4 separate regions of the Homo sapiens genome follow, and all the other regions are linked to region 3. Evidence: promoter capture Hi-C in 16 types of primary human blood cells and fetal thymus (Javierre and others, 2016). All regions are on one chromosome and are shown on one strand. The core of a region is centred on a gene start or on the middle of the fragment in contact, and the rest is flanking DNA. Distances in the headings are between cores, read along the strand shown.

Region 1 (3,891 bases), core at 472-2,971, 660 kb after region 3:
TGTAATCCCAGCTACTTGGGAGGCTGAGGCAAGGGAATTGCTTGAATCCAGGAGAGGGAGGCTGCAGCGAGCAGAGATTGCACCAATGCACTCCAGCCTGGGCGACAGAGTGAGACTCCATCTCAAAATAAATAAATTAATTAAATAAATAGAGAAAATATTGAGAAACAAATGAAAACAAAAACACAGCATGCCAAAATTTACTGGACACAGTGAAAGCAGTGCTCAGGGGAAATTTTATAGCTATAAGTGCTTCAAAATCATAGACAGAAAATTGCCAGGGCCTGGGGGTATGGGGATGGGAGGAGGGAAGAGGAAGTTATTGTTTAATGGGGACAGAATTTCAGTTTCAGTTTAGCAAGAAGACCAGAATTTTAGAGATAGCTGATGGTGATGATTGCACAATATGAAATGAATGTACTTTGTTGTTGGGGTTTTTTTGTTTTGTTTTGTTGTTGTTGTTGTTGTTTTTTGAGAGGGAGTCTCGCGCTGTCGCCCAGACTGGAGTGCAGTGGCAAGATCTTGGCTCACTGCAAGCTCCGCCTCCCAGGTTCAAGCCATTCTCCTGCCTCAGCCTCCCGAGTAGCTGGGACTACAGGCGCCCGCCACCACGCCCGGCTAATTTTTTGTATTTTTAGTAGAGACAGGGTTTCACCGTGTTAGCCAGGTTGTGTTTTTGTTTTTTTTTTTTTTTTTCAGACGGAGTTTCGTTCTTGTTGCCCAGGCTGGAGTTTAGTGACTGTTGGAGTGAGTGAGCCATCTTGGCCCACGGCAACCTTCGCCTCCCAGGTCAAAGGCTTTTCCTGCCTCAGCGTCCTGAGTAGCTGAGGCTACAGGCATGGGCAACCACGCCTGGCTAATTTTAGTATTGTTAGTAGAGACGGGGTTTCACCATGTTGGCCAGGCTGCTCTAGTACTCCTAGGCTCAAGCGATCCGCCCACCTCGGCCTCCCAAAGTGCTGAGATTACAGAAGTAAGCCACCTTGCCCAGCTCCTTTGTATAAATAAATGATATTGATTTTCTTCTTGCAGCTCAGGAATTAGATCTGTTATTAGAATTTGCTTAAATTTAAGAAATGGCTGGGTACTGTGGCTCACCGCTGTAATCCCAGCACTTCGGGTTGCCGAGGCAGGCGGATTGCTTGCGTCCAAGAGTTCGAGGCCAGCCTCGGCAACACAGTGAGACCCGCCCGCTCTCTGCACCACTCCTTCCCCCCCTCCTTTCCCCGTCTCTACAAAAAATACAAAAATAAATAAATTAGTCCGGCATGGTGGTGACTGCCTGTGGTCCAGCTACGCAGGAGGCTGAGGTGGGAGGATCGCTTGAACCCCGGTGGTCGAGGCTGCAGGGAGCCATGATCGCGCGCGCCACTGAACACCAGCCTGGGCGACAAAGCAAGACCTTGTCCCAAAATAGATTAAATAAATAAATAAATAAATTTAAGGAAAAAGCAACTTGATTCGAAGATAAATAGTGATAGTGCAAGTGGTGCCGAACTAACGATAAATTTGGAAAACAGCGGCCCACGCGCAGAGCCCGTCCCAATTCTGGCAGCCTTTGGATTTGGCTTCCACGTTTTCCAGATTTCCCTCGGCCTCTAGCTCGCTTGCGTCAGAGGGGCCCCGAGGGGCGGCCCACCCGCTAGCCCCGCCCCCAACCGCTCACCGCCCCGCGAGCCCCGCCCCCTCGGCCTCCTCCTCATCGGCCGCCGTTGCGCGGCGCAGAGCGGCAGCAAGATGGCGGCGCAACAGCGGGACTGCGGGGGTGCTGCGCAGCTGGCGGGGCCGGCGGCGGAGGCTGACCCCCTAGGACGCTTCACGTGTCCCGTGTGCTTAGAGGTGTACGAGAAGCCGGTACAGGTGCCCTGCGGACACGTGTAAGCGGCGAGCCCGGGCCTGGTCGGGGGGCGCTTAACTGGGAAGGGAATGGAGCCGAGGAGCGAGATGGGTCTCAGGGCGGGAGCCAGAGGACCCACCCAGAGGGGCCTCCCGGGGGTGTCCCCCGGGGCTCCTAAGGGCCGTGAAAGCTGCCGGGGCGCTCTTCTGTCCCGCCCCGCTCACTCCTAAGTATCCCGTTCCTCCGCCCGTCTTAGCGGGGCAGCTGCTGTCTGTTGAGCGCCTGCGATGTTCCAGGCGGCCTGTCAGTCTCCTTCCCACACGTGATAGTGGACTCGTGCCCTGCGGGGACTTTAGGCTCCGAAGTCCGCCCTTGGAGAGCCGACGTTTCCTTTCTAGTCCACGTCGCTCTTAAAGCATAGGACATTTGGCGTCGTGTCTAGCTGTGGCGAGTTATTCTACTGTGCACTAAAGTCGGGAGAAACGCTGAACTAGACTAAAACAACAAAAGGGAAGTCTTTATGGGGATCTGGCCAGTTTGCCCTTAGCTGTGAAAGGGGGGTGGGAGTTGGCAGATGGGATTGTTAGCATTCTACTTCCTGTGTAGGAGGTTTGTTTCTTTCAGTTTTCAATTAAGCCTTCATGACCTGAATATTGTGAATAGAGTGGTTATAATGATTAAAGCAGATATGTGTATAAATGTCCAGTCCAGGTCCTGGGCTGTGGCCGGGGCTTTCGAGGTTGGTCAGGTTGGTCGATTTGAATCTAAGCCTTGTTCCATCAGACGCACAAACACATCTGAGTTGAAAGAATTGTAGACAACGTGGCCACCTGCTTCTTGCCTCAGAATTGGCTTTTCCTCTGGCCCCTCTCAGTGCTTATCGTGGGATCACCTTGGCATTGGTCTTGGCAGCGGGCACAGTAGCCATTGCACTCCATGGGCATTATTCTATAGCCACCCTGCAGCGGGGGAGGGTTGGCAGCCATTTTACAGGTGAATACACTGAGGGTCCGAGGCTCTCTTAGGGAAGGGTCACCGTGGCCTAGCTCTTCCCAGATGTACTGCAGGTGACCATTTCAGTAGTCCAGAGAACAGTGCTTGGCACCTAGCTGGCTGCTTTTTGCTTCATCATGTTGCTTTAGGCTATTCATCTTTGCAATTCGGTTAGCCTGGAACTCTTCCCCCCACCCCTCCCTTTTCAGGCTTCAAGTCCCAGGTTAAGTTACCTCACCAAATACCATCCCCATCTAAATTACTTCCCCCACTTCCTTTCTGGGACTTAACTTCCTTCTCCTTGCTTGCACAGAGCAAAACTTAACAGCTCATGACGGAGTGGCCATATCTTTATTGCCCCTGAACTGACTGGAATGGCCTCTGTGTGCCAGATTTTGGGGTAGACTCTGCCTTCAGAGTTTACAGTCCAGTGAATTGATTATAAATAAGTACCAATGACTGGTCAAACTATTGTAAAAATTCATTCTGCAAGTGGGAGGGTATTTCAGGGATCACACCTCTGTGCGTGGGGTGAGTGATCAGGTAATGGTTGAATGAACTAATAAGTCGTGTAAGCAAGCTTCACGAGAGTTGAAGTGGTCTTTAGCTTTTTCATTGAATCCACTTATCCTTGGATCAGATTTACCTGATTTTGGATTAATTCAGTGGATTTCATTTACTATTAACATTTGTAAAAAGGCTAGACCCAGCACAGTTTGCTAAATGAAGAGCAGCAAAATTTGAGATTTTCTTGAGCTTGGTGAACCTTTCCTAGGTCAGAGGGCAAGGAACAGTACTGGTTTTCAAACCTTGGCTCTTCTCTATCCTCGCTGTCCTAGCCCCACGTGATCAGCAGTTCAGTGCAAATTGAAGACAGATGGAAGCACCTCTGTGAGGGCAGCCCAAATCCCCGCTAGCTCCAACCGACTGCTTTCTCCTGTGCCTAGTTGATTTTTACCTTTTGTGCTTGGAAAGTTGAGCATCACTGCAACTCTGGCTGGGGCATTGGATTTTTATAAAACTTTATTTCAAGCCCTGAATGACTGTGTTCTCCAATCTGG
Region 2 (3,738 bases), core at 1,073-3,572, 540 kb after region 3:
AATGGGGAATCATTGTTATTTACTTACACTAGATTAACAATTAACATTATTTGACACATACATTTTATGGGCCTTGAAACTTAATGGAGTTATTATGATTGATATGTGTTTTATATATTTTCCATAGTCATTACTCCAGGCATGAAAAATTGAAAGCACACCCTCCATACCACACAGAAGTGTTTGCCCTTTCTTGCTCGGTTTTTTTCCAAGTGTACTTGAAAACGTGCTTGTTTTTGCATATACAGATGTATATTCGTAAGTACATGCAGAAACACAAATAATACATGTTTGGAGTTGCAAATTTGTTTTGACATAAATGGGGTCCCATAACTTGCCTTTTCATCTCACAGAATGTCTTGGAGATCATTGTATTGGTGTTTTTTCTGTCTACCTCATTCTTTTTTTTTTGTAGTAAATACATAACATACATTTACAATTTTAACCACTTTAAAATGTACAGTTCAGCAGCATCTAGTACATTCACAATGTTGTGCAGCTATCACTACTATCTAGTTTCAGAACATTTTCATCACCCCAAAAGAAAACCATTAAAAGCAGTCATTCCCCATCCCTCCCTTTTCTAGTCCTTGGCAACCACTATTCTGCTTTCTGTCTCTAGGAATTTGCCTATTTAGAATATTTCATATAAATGAAACCATATAATACGTGGCCTTTTGTGTCTGGTTTCTATTACTTAGCATAATGTTCTCAAGATTCATGTTATAGCATATGTTAGAATTGCATTCCTTTTTATGGCTGAGTAATATTCCACTGTATGGATATGCCACATGATGTTTATTCATTCATCAGTGAACATTTGGATTGTTTCTACCTTTTGGCTGTTGTGAATACTGCTGCTGTGAACATTTGTGTATAGGCTTTTGTGTGGATAAATGTTTTTATTTCTTTTGGATATATACCTGCAAGTGGAATTGCCGAGTCAAACGGTTACTGTATGTTTAACTTTCTCAGAAACTGACAAATGTTTTCCACAGGGGCTGCACCATTTTACAAGGGTTCCGGTTTCTCCATGTTCTTGCGAACACTTGTTTTCTGGTTTTAAAAAAATGATAGACTGGGCGTGGTGGCTCATACCTGCAATCTCAGCACTTTGGGAGGCTGAGGCGGGAAGATCACTTGAGGCCAGGAGTTCGAGACCAGCCTGGCAATATGGCGAAACCCTGTCTCTCCTAAAAATACAAAAAAATTAGCTGGGTGTGGGCGTGGTGGCATACACCTATAATCCCAGCTATTCGGGAGGCTGAGGCACTAGAATCATTTGAACCTGGGAGGTGGAGGTTTCAGTGAGCTGAGATTGCACCACTGCACTCCAGCCTGGGTGACAGAGTGAGACTCTGTCTCGGGGAAAAAAAAAATTATAGCTATCCTAGTGGATATGAAATTGTATTTTTGTTTTGTTTTGTTTTTTTTGAGATGGAATCTTGCTCTGTCTCCCAGGCTAGAGTGCAGTGGCATGATCTTGGCTCACTGCAACCTCTACCTCCTGGGTTCAAGTGATTCTCCTGTCTCAGCCTCCCATATAGCTGGGATTCAGGTGCGCACCACCACACCCTGCTAATTTTTGTATTTTTAGTAGAGACGGCGTTTCACCATGTTGGCCAGGCTGGTCTTGAACTCCGACCTCAGGTGATCTGCTTGCCTCAGCCTCCCAAAGTGCTGGGATTCCAGGTGTGAGCCACCGCACCAGGCCCTCACTGTATTTTTTAAAAAATCTTACATGTCCTTCCAGTGAATCATTGTATTTTGATTTTAGTTTCCCTTGTGACTATTGATGTTGAACATCTTTTGTCTATTCATGTCCTATGCCCGTTTAAAAGCTGTGGTGTTTGTCTCTTGGCTGTTGAGTTTAAGAGTTCTTTATATATTGTGGATAGTACACCTTTATCAGATATATGATTTGCAAATATTTTCTCCCCTTCTATGGATTGTCTTTTCTGACTTTATTCTTTTTAATGGCTGAAGGCTGTTACCTGGCATTGATGAGCCTTATATTAACTCTTTCTGTTAATAGTTTCCCCTTTTGCTCTTAAAGCCGCAAAGAGTTGTTTGATCTATTTATGAGAATAACTTAAATTTTTAAAAATCTAGCTTGGTACAAAGGAAGAGCAGAAACTGGTTCAACTCTCTTGGTCTATTTTCTGTCCACTTATGTGCTTATTTGCCGTTTTTTGTTTTGTCTAGACATTGGGCATGTTCATTAGTCACATGTTATGTTTATGCACTGGAACTTTTTTCTTGCCATTAGTATTTAATGTAGGATTTCTAACTAGGTTAAATATTTATATAAAAATAACACCACAGATTGATAGTTTAAAGCACAGAATGAAAAGAGGACAAAATGTCTACATTTACAACACTCTGGCCACCTGGTGTTTTTTGGTGGGATTAAAGAAACCTAATTTGTCAGTGCAGCCTCTGAGGGTGACCAGTTAACAGGCATGTGGATTGTTTAAACATTTCCTTGAAAAAAATAACAAAATTAATGTTAGTCCTGTTAATACTGTGGTTGATGAGCTGGTATACCATCTAGGTGCCCAGTAAAAGAAAGACATGCACGCTAACATTTGGATTAGGAAATTACATTCAGGAATAATTTTTGTGAAGTACCCATTTTTTTTGCCGGGGGGTTGGTGGGGGCAGAAATATCCCTTTCAAATCGTTTTATTTTACATCTTCTTATTTTCTTTCATAACAACACCTCTGTGAGGAAAGTTAGACATTATTCTGTTTTGGAGATTGAGGAATGAAGGCATCCAGCCAAGTGGGAGGTGGTGGGGTATGCTGTGGTTAAGAGCACAGATTTGGAATCTGACTCAATACTGCAGCACCTACCAGTGGTGTGACAGGGGCTGTGATGTCTAGAAGCCTCAGTTTTCTGATTTGTAATCAGAGAAGATAGTGGTAATGACAGCTAATTCCGAGGGAAGTTGGAGGATTAAATGAGAGAGTATTTGGGGTGTTCAGCCTAGTTCATGGCTCATGGGAAGTCCTCAGCCGATGGGAATGGCAGGACACAGCTGCACCCAGCTGGGGAGCAGGAGTGTTCCATATTCAGATCTCTGATGTTCTTGTCACCAAACCATTTACTTTTTCCTGTTTGTAAAACCCTTACTTCCCTCTATGTTAAGAGCCAGTCACATGATGGCAAAATAATTTGTGTCAATGCAATCTGTTGCAGTTACATTTATGTAAAAGTGATTGATTTCATTGACTTCCTCTTCACCATATAGTGTTCCAGTTGATAATCACTTCCAAAAAGTTGAAGACCATTTCTCAGAATCAGAAAAATTTGAATAATTTTAAATAATTTTATAAGGTTTAACAGCTTATATAAAAAAATAGGTTTCTGGCTGATCACCGTGGCTCACGCCTGTAATCCCAGCACTTTGGGAGGCCAAGGTGAGTGGATTGCTTGAGCCCAAGAGTTGGAGACCAGCCTGTGCAATGTGGCGAAACCCCATCTCTACTAAAAATACAAAAAAATTAGTTGGGTGTGGTGTCATGTGTCTCTAGTCCCAGCTACTTGGGAGGCTGAGATGGGAGAATCACCTGAGCCTGGGAAGTTGAGACTGCAGTGACCCTAGATCATACCACTGCACTCTAGCCTGGATGACACAGTGAGACCCTGTCTCAAAAAAGTTAGATTTCTGTTCCTCTTCCAATAACTACTGGGAAACAAACTAGTTCAGGCAGACAAAGAAGTATAGAGAAAAT
Region 3 (3,809 bases), core at 48-2,547:
CTACATTTGGCATTATATGAGGGGCAGCTTTTTTCCTCATCTGAAAAAGGAGTCTCTTTTCTTCCCCCTGGGAATATCTCTGGTGAGTCCCCTCCCTCATCTTATCAAACCCAGCCCTCCTGGCGCAGGCTCAGTATTTAGAGTTTGTTTGTTTATTTTCAATTCTCCGAGGGGAAAATTCCTTCTTCCCCTTGTTGAAAAATGCTAAAATAGAAACTCCAGAAAATTTAAAAGAAACGGAAGAAAAGAAAAAAAGATGTTAAAAAAAAGGCAAGGGAAGGAAGGGAGGAGTAGACATGAACAGGAAATGCTGGGATCGAAAACAGACTGAAGTGTTTTTTTTTGGTGGGGGGAATCAAGGCCTAAAGGGCACGAAGAAGAAAATCAGTGATGATCAAGCTGGCCTGGAGTCAGAATGAGAGGGGCTAGTCATCACCAGAGTGGGACGCAGGAGGCTGAGGTCGGAGGCAGAGCTGGGTTTGGGGGAAGTCTCCAGGGTCCTGGGGAATCCCTGACCCAGGGAGCCCACGGTCCCTAATGGAAATGTTATGGGGTCAGGGAGCGCCAAGGCTGTGAGGTGGCGGGGTTATGGGGGCCTTGGGGAGAGGGTGGTAGCGAGCACCAGGGGGTGCTTGCTGAGGACGGAGGCGGCGGGGTGGGGGCAGGGAGCAGGCTGAAGGGGGTGCCGAGGTGCTCTGTAGAAGAGGGGGATTGATAAGGTGACAGGAGGTGAGGCCGGAGGAATGAGGGGGGTGCGAGTGGCAGAAGGGAGGGCACAGACAGGGGTAGGGGCAGAGGAGATCGAAGTGCTGAGGGCAGAAGCGGTGACGGTGTCGGGGGTGCTGGGGAGAGCGACGGGCCAGCTGAGGGGATGGGGACACTAAAGAGAGTACAGGGGAGCCGAAGGGGCGACGGGGCGCTGAGATGGGCCAGGGGCTGAGTGGGTGACGGGGCGCTGAGTAGGCGATGGAGGTCTGGGGTCTGAGGGGGAGACGGGGCGCTGAGAGGCGCTCTGAGTGGGTGCTGATGCCGCTGGGGGCCAAAGAGGTGACAAGGCTCTGAGTGGGTGATGGGGGTCTGGGGATTGAGGGGGCGACGGGGCGCTGAGGGGCCAGGGGCTCTGAGCGGGTGACGGGTGCGTTGGGGGCTTGAGAGGGTGACAGGTCTTACGGGCAGAGGCAGTGGCGGGTCGGCGCGGGCGCCGGGGTTCGCGGCGAGGCAAGGAAGAATCAGGGGCAGGGGCAGTTGCGGGGCCACTCACCCGGCTCCGGCGCGTCCTTTCACTGCCGCCGGCGAGTGCTGGGGCTTCGGCCCAGGCAGGTCGGTGGCCCCGCCCGGCGCCGCGCACTTTCGGTTTCCGTTCCCCGCAGACCCTGGGCGGAGCCGGGCGGGCGGCCCAGAGGAGGAGAAGGAGGAGGCGGGGGCCCAGGGTGGAGAGCACGAGGGCCTGGCCCAGGCACGGCCGGCGCCTCCGCCCTCGAGGAGGGCGTCACCTCAGCTCCCCCCGGCGGCGGAGCCGGCGGGCTCAGGCGGGCGCGGCTGAGGGGAGCGGACCGCGGGGGGCGGGAGATGACTGCGCCCAAGGCCTTTGCGGGCCTCAGCCGGCCCCAGAGGAAGGGGAACCCGTCGAGCGGTTTGGTGCGTGTGAAGCGCGACATGGCGAGGAAGCGGACAAGCCCGGGTGGCCCGGCGTGTAGAGGGAAGGGGGCGGGGCTAGACGCGGCCTGGACAACTACTAGAGCGCCTCGGGCTGTGCTGCTCGAGACTACATTTCCCAGAGCGACGCGCGCGGAGCGGGCGGGAAAGAGAGCGTTTCGGGTCCAGTGCGCAGGTGCGAAAGCCATCTTTGGTTATATAAGGGAGGTTCAGGAAGCCATTCGTTCTTTCGCGTCTGCGGTGCCCGGAGTGTGGTACTTCTCCTAGTTGCAGTCAGGCTTCATACGCTATTGTCCTGCCCGTAAGTTCCCGTTTTGTGTGTGGTGAGTGGAAACTCCATGTTCTTCGTTGGAGACCTCTGGTCCTCCCTTCCCTTCTTTGTGCCGTCGTCTCTGCGGCCAGCCCTAATCTCCTTCTCGTGGCTTCTCCGTCTCTGACCCCAAATAGGCCTTAAGGGCGTGGGAGAAATGAGTTTCTGGAGCTGGAAAAGCCACTGCCTTCTGCACGGGCCTGAGAAGCCCTTGGCTGGTGTAAATGATGACTTCACTTTTTTCCCCATCAGATCGACAATGCTGACGTCTTATATTTTGCCAGTTAGTTCTGATACATCGGCCTCAAAAGGCCCGGCCTTGTTCGTTTCTGACCGTGGGAAGATGGCGGTTAACGCCCTTTATTTGTTGGTTCACAGGTTAGAGCAGCCAGCGGGTACAGAATGGATTTTGGAAGAGGGAGTCACCACTGGACCTCCAAGGAAGCCACGTGCAGACATCTACAACCTTCGATCTCCTGACGAGTAAGTCTTTGTCTCCTATGGGTCTACTGTAGAAAACACGTGCTTTGAGAAGCTTTAGTTTTCTAGGAAAACGTGGGATTTAACAAAGCACTTTCTATCGAGCATTTATTAGGTATTTAAAAAAGTGTTCTGACGGCCGGGCGCTGTGGCTGACGCCTGTAACCCCAGCACTTGGGGAGGCCAAGGCAGATGGGTCACCTGAGGTCAAGATTTGGAGACCAGCCTGGCCAACATGGTGAAACCCTGACTCTATTAAAAATACAGAAATTAGCTGGGCGTGGTGGTACGCGCCTGTAATCCCAGCAACTCACAAGGCTGAGGCAGGAGAATTGCCCGAACCCGGGCGGCGGAGGTTGTAGTGAGTTGAGATTGCGCCACTGCCCTACAGTCGGGGCAACAGAGCCAGACTCCGTCTCAAAAAAAAAAAAAAAAGAAAAACATGTTCTGAATGTTTTATTCTCACAGTTCAAATATTGGAACTAGGTTTCTGGTGAAGAAACAGGTTTAAGAGAAATGCCTGAAGTGAAAGAACCTTGTTAGTGAAGAGGCGTTTAACATTTTAATGCCACTTAAACATATTTTTGGATTCCATTCTTCCTGTGTGTTGGGGCGCTTAAATTTCCAAGTGGAGGGATGATTTATTGACATATTTTGGAAAGCCAAATGTGTTTTTCTGTTGAACTAGCCACTCAAACCAGTGCCCGACTACATAACTAATATTTTTGCTAGAGTCCAGGAGTGAGGCGTTTACAAAGTCTGGGCTTCATGGGAACACATGTGAAGCTTATTGTTCCAGATTGTTCTTTTGTCAGGTAACTTGTGGTAACTTGTGTTAAAATGCAATCTCTTGGTACTTGTTCACTTCCCAACTCAGTAAATGCCAACTACTTCCTCAACTCTTCCAGCCACACTGGCTTCTATCATGGGCCTGTACTCAGAGTGTAAGCACTGAAGACAGGGGTGTTTGGTTTGGCTACCAAGTTATTGCCAGCTACAGGATACAACACAGAAGTGCTCAAACACCGAATGCAAATTTGCAAATATGAAGCATACCAACCAAATCTTACTCCTCATGGCTTTCAAATCTTACTCCTCACTCAAGAACTTCCTGCTGGCATATATGATGACTTAGCTTTTTTCCCCGACAGATCGACTATGTTGATCTAACTTTTCTAAGCCAGTTTCTGTCTGATATGCCAGCTTGAGCAGCTCCTTTGTCCCAGCTCCCCTGGGCATCTAGCTGATGGGAGCTCATTTTTCTGTTTTTTCATTTCAGGTTTATTGTTGGCCAAAACCAGGCTTTGATTGAACCAGGATGAATGCGGGTGTTGGAAGTAGAATATATATATACATATAAAAT
Region 4 (3,766 bases), core at 1,050-3,549, 640 kb after region 3:
AACACAGAGCCTGCCTGTGCTTGATAAAGTAGGTGAAATGGATGCTGCAGCCAGGCACGGTGGCTCACGCCTGTAATCTTAGCACTTTGGGAGGCCGAGGCAGGTGGATTGCCTGAGCTCAGGAGTTCGAGACCAGCCTGGGCAACACGGTGAAACCCCGTCTCTACCAAAATTTAAAAAAAAATTAGACGGGTGTGGCAGCATGCGCCTGTAATCACAGCTACTCGGGAGGCTGAGGCAGGAGAATTGCTAGAACCCAGGAGGCGGAGGCTGCAGTGAGCCGAGATCGCCCCATTGCACTCCAGCCTGGGCAACAGAGCGAGACTCCGTCTCTAAAAAAAAAAAAAGAAAAAGAAAAAGAAAAGAGAAAAAGAGAAATGGATGCTGCAAAGGATGTCTGCATTCACGATGCCATCACTTTAGTTTCTCATTGGTACCTCCCAAGAATCCTGGGAGATCAGCTGGAGAGCAAAGAAACGGGCTCAGAAAGATGGCATGAGGTACGACAAGTAGCTCAAGGTTAGCAGATGATGGACCCGATAATCCAAGCCTGGCCTTCTGACTTGGAACCTGTATTCCTCTCACCACCCCACGATTCCCATGTCCAGCAAGCATTTCTGCAGCCCCCACCCTCTGCCTGAGCTGGACCCAGTCGGGGAATGGGGATGGGTGGGACAGGTAGAGGACAGCAATAAAGGAGACACATCCTGCCTGCAGCTCTAGCTGGAAGAGCATACCACCTAGTATCAAAGTAGGTATGTGCTCTAACTTCATACTGTTCTGTCCATAAAAAAATAAACAATTTAAAATGTATATTCTCTTAAAAAATAAAAATGCAGGCCAGGCGCGGTGGCTCACGCCTGTAATCCTACAACTCTGGGAGGCCAAGGTGGGTGGATCGCCTGAGATTGGGAGTTTGAGACTAGCCTGGCCAACATAGCGAAACCCCGCCTCTACTAAAAATACAAAAATTAGCTGGACGAACACCTGTAATCCCAGCTACTCAGGAGGCTGAGGCAGGAGAATGGCGTGAACCCAGGAGGGAGAGGTTGCAGTGAGCTGAGATCGTGCCATTGCACTCCAGCCTGGGCAACAGAGCAAAAACTCCATCTCTACATAAATAAATGTATTGCACCACTGGAGAGGATAGTCACACATGCATTTACCATTCTTGACTTATCTAAGAGAAGCTGCCATCACGCCTCTGGCCCCAGGGTCTGTTTTTTGGTAGTCTGAGAACCATTCAAACACAGAGACATTAAGCTTCCGAATACTGCTGTAATTTTTCTCCAAGGAAGTCAGCCTTGAACTCAAAGAGACTGATTTTTTACAAAGTCAGCCAGTCTCAAGCTCGGCTCAGCGTCTGCTGCTCTATAATCGCACCACAGTCCACACCCTTGTTTGTTGCTGAAAAACAATAAATAAAGGAAAGGGATCCAAACAGCCCAGCTGATGTTCAAAATACTCACAATAAGGACAGGAAGCCTATCTAAAACAAATCTCAAACCAACCTGGGTAGGTGAGGGAAAAGGCGGAAGAAAGTAAAAGCTAAAAGATAATTAAGGGCAAGACAAGCCTGGACAACATAGTTAGACTCCGTCTCTACAAAAAAAAAAAAAAAAAAAATTAGGTGGGTGTGGTGACACCCACCTGTAGTCTTAGCTACTTGGGAGTCTGAGGTGGGGGGATCCACTGAGCCCAGGAGTTTGAGGCTGCAGTGAGCTATGATGGCACCACTGCACTCCGGCCTGGGTGACAGAGCAAGACCTTGTCTCAATCAGTCAATAAGGAAAGGAAAGAAAGAGACTAACAATTACTGAGGTTCTACTATGTGCTAAGCATTGGGCTTCCCACTTTACCTACATCATCCCATTTAATCCTCACAACTCTATAAGGAAAACAGGCTCTTCCCATTAAAACAACCTGCCCAACAGAGTTTGAAAGGGTCAGAGCTGGAATCTGAACTCTTGCTGGGAGGCCCTTGATGCCTGGGCTTTCTCCAATTTACCTCACTCATTTATTGTTACATCAGTACCATTTACCAAGGGATTACTGTGTGGCATCCCTCTGCTAACTGCTCTGTGAAAACCAATGAAATCCACAGGATAGATCCAAGGTTAAAGAGGAAACTGAGGCTCGGAGAGGCCAACTCACTTACCCTAAGTCGTAAGGCTAGGAAGAAGTGGATCTGAGCTCTGAACCTAGGTCTAACGCCAAAACTCCGACTCTTGCAAAGCCATCCTGCTGCATCTGCTGGACAGCTCTACTCGAAAGTGTTTGGCTAAGTTAGAATGCCTTATGGCGGCGCGAGCAGAGTTGAGTTACAAAAATTCCTGTAGTAGCAAAATTCCCATCTTCCCACACCGAATGGGGCTAGGAGAGCTAATCTCTATATGATGTAAGCTCAAGGGCCAAGGAAAGAGGCTGGTCAGAGACATCGGCCAGTGATGAAGCAGCTGACATCATCCCTGCTGAAAACATTTTCTGAGAATACAAGATGCCTTGTAGCTGGTCATAGCTGGTGTTTTTTCTGAGCACAGAGCCAGCAATTCATTCCCAGCACTCTGCAAGAACAACAAAATACGCTCTCTGCAAAAACATCGTGGTTACAGGAGACCGAGACAGCCCAGCGACAGAAGCTGCTAATTTCTCCAAGCAACCCAAGGATTGGAACGCCAAGCCGTGCCAGTCTGGTGGAAAAAAAAAAAAAAAAAAACCCAAAAAACAAAAAAACAGCACTGTGAATATCCTGAACACAGAGACAGGCAGGTGCCCAGAGTCAACGGCTCCAGTCAGCACCTCCTGCACCCACAATCTAGGTACCTTCTTGAAAAGCAAGTCAATGGAAAAAGAGATATTGCACAGTCAGGGAGCCAGTGGCTTCTTTAGTTATTTTTTGAACATCTAAGAGGAAAGCTGTATCTGTTTAGAGTCCCACTGCATGGAAGTGAAGTGATTCCGAGTAGCTAAGCATTAGCTTGGCTTTACCTCAGCTGGCCCATTCAAGCAGAAATGTTCCCCAAGCAGCATTTGAAGGCGCCCCCTCTCTGCACAGGCAGACCTATTTTGGTCTGTGCACTGCCCCTGTCCACAGGTTTACACATCCCTGGTCTAGCTCCATCAGCCTCCAAACAGGAGACGGGGAAGTCAGTTCAACCCCCTCCACCTCCCCACCCACACCAATGCACTCGTTCCAAGCAAGAGGCTCCGAGAAACATCCAAGGCACCTTCCACTGGCTGTGAAACACCAGAAGGTCCCCACACTCCTACTAGATTCCAAAGAAATTCACACAGAGTCCTTCCAAACCTCTGAAAATAACCTCAGCGGTGCTGAAAGAAGCTTCCCTAGTGGCAGCTGCCTCTCTCGGAGAAGCTCTGAAGGAAGCTGTTTCCCTCCCTGCAGGGGACAGAAGCTGGCGGCTGCTAAGTCCCAGCTCGGTCATTCCTACAGCCTCGGGGGGCCACGTCAGTTGTGAAAAACAGCCCAGTCTCAAATTCTGGCCCCCCCTACGGCTTCGTGAATTGAATGAAGTAACAGGAACTATCACTTATTGGACGCCTGCTGTATGCCAGAGGCCCTGCATGATCTCATTCCATCTCCACTCCAGCCCTAGCAACCAGGTTCAATCACTTAAATAGGCAACTGAGGCTCTTAAGATGAAGTGACTTATCCAAGGTCACACAGTGAGTACAAACCCAGGTGTGCCGCCAGAGCCTGAACTGGGAACCCCTGCGCGGTAACTGCCTCGTGGCGAAATCGGGGTGT

What was found. The method cuts DNA at HindIII sites, captures the fragments that hold promoters and counts their contacts. A CHiCAGO score of 5 or more calls a contact.
Region 1: a contact is called between the fragment with the promoter of RNF114 here and the fragment with the promoter of ZNFX1 in region 3, in 6 of 17 cell types (naive CD8 T cells, total CD8 T cells, naive CD4 T cells and 3 more). The highest score is 8.1, in naive CD8 T cells.
Region 2: a contact is called between a fragment that was not itself captured here and the fragment with the promoter of ZNFX1 in region 3, in 1 of 17 cell types (activated CD4 T cells). The highest score is 5.8, in activated CD4 T cells.
Region 4: a contact is called between a fragment that was not itself captured here and the fragment with the promoter of ZNFX1 in region 3, in 8 of 17 cell types (naive B cells, naive CD8 T cells, activated CD4 T cells and 5 more). The highest score is 8.4, in naive B cells.

What each region holds. Positions count from the first base shown.
Region 1 is chr20:49,934,676-49,938,566 of GRCh38, forward strand. It overlaps RNF114 (ring finger protein 114), which reads left to right and starts at 1,722. Exons shown (of 6, transcript NM_018683.4): 1 at 1,722-1,877. The coding sequence starts at 1,738. RefSeq lists silencers at 923-1,002, 1,569-1,758, 2,217-2,511, 2,797-3,091 and an enhancer at 1,371-1,976. The HindIII fragment of the contact is 14,536 bases long and covers 1-3,408 here.
Region 2 is chr20:49,819,131-49,822,868 of GRCh38, forward strand. All of the region lies in intron 2 of SLC9A8 (solute carrier family 9 member A8), which reads left to right. Among named protein-coding and RNA genes, the nearest start is that of SLC9A8, 8.2 kb to the left of the region's middle. The HindIII fragment of the contact is 4,761 bases long and covers 1-3,738 here.
Region 3 is chr20:49,276,760-49,280,568 of GRCh38, forward strand. ZNFX1 (zinc finger NFX1-type containing 1) reads right to left here and starts at 1,298. Exons shown (of 14, transcript NM_021035.3): 1 at 1,262-1,298. ZFAS1 (ZNFX1 antisense RNA 1) reads left to right here and starts at 1,419. Exons shown (of 4, transcript NR_036658.2): 1 at 1,419-1,957; 2 at 2,345-2,449; 3 at 3,726-3,809. It overlaps SNORD12C (small nucleolar RNA, C/D box 12C), which reads left to right and starts at 2,186; the gene lies at 2,186-2,264. It overlaps SNORD12B (small nucleolar RNA, C/D box 12B), which reads left to right and starts at 3,554; the gene lies at 3,554-3,656. RefSeq lists enhancers at 473-532, 874-1,374, 1,375-1,875, 1,633-1,927, 1,803-2,002 and silencers at 1,073-1,302, 1,353-1,712. The HindIII fragment of the contact is 6,236 bases long and covers 1-2,499 here.
Region 4 is chr20:49,911,334-49,915,099 of GRCh38, forward strand. All of the region lies in intron 1 of SPATA2 (spermatogenesis associated 2), which reads right to left. Among named protein-coding and RNA genes, the nearest start is that of SPATA2, 2.3 kb to the right of the region's middle. RefSeq lists an enhancer at 3,214-3,383. The HindIII fragment of the contact is 2,077 bases long and covers 1,262-3,338 here.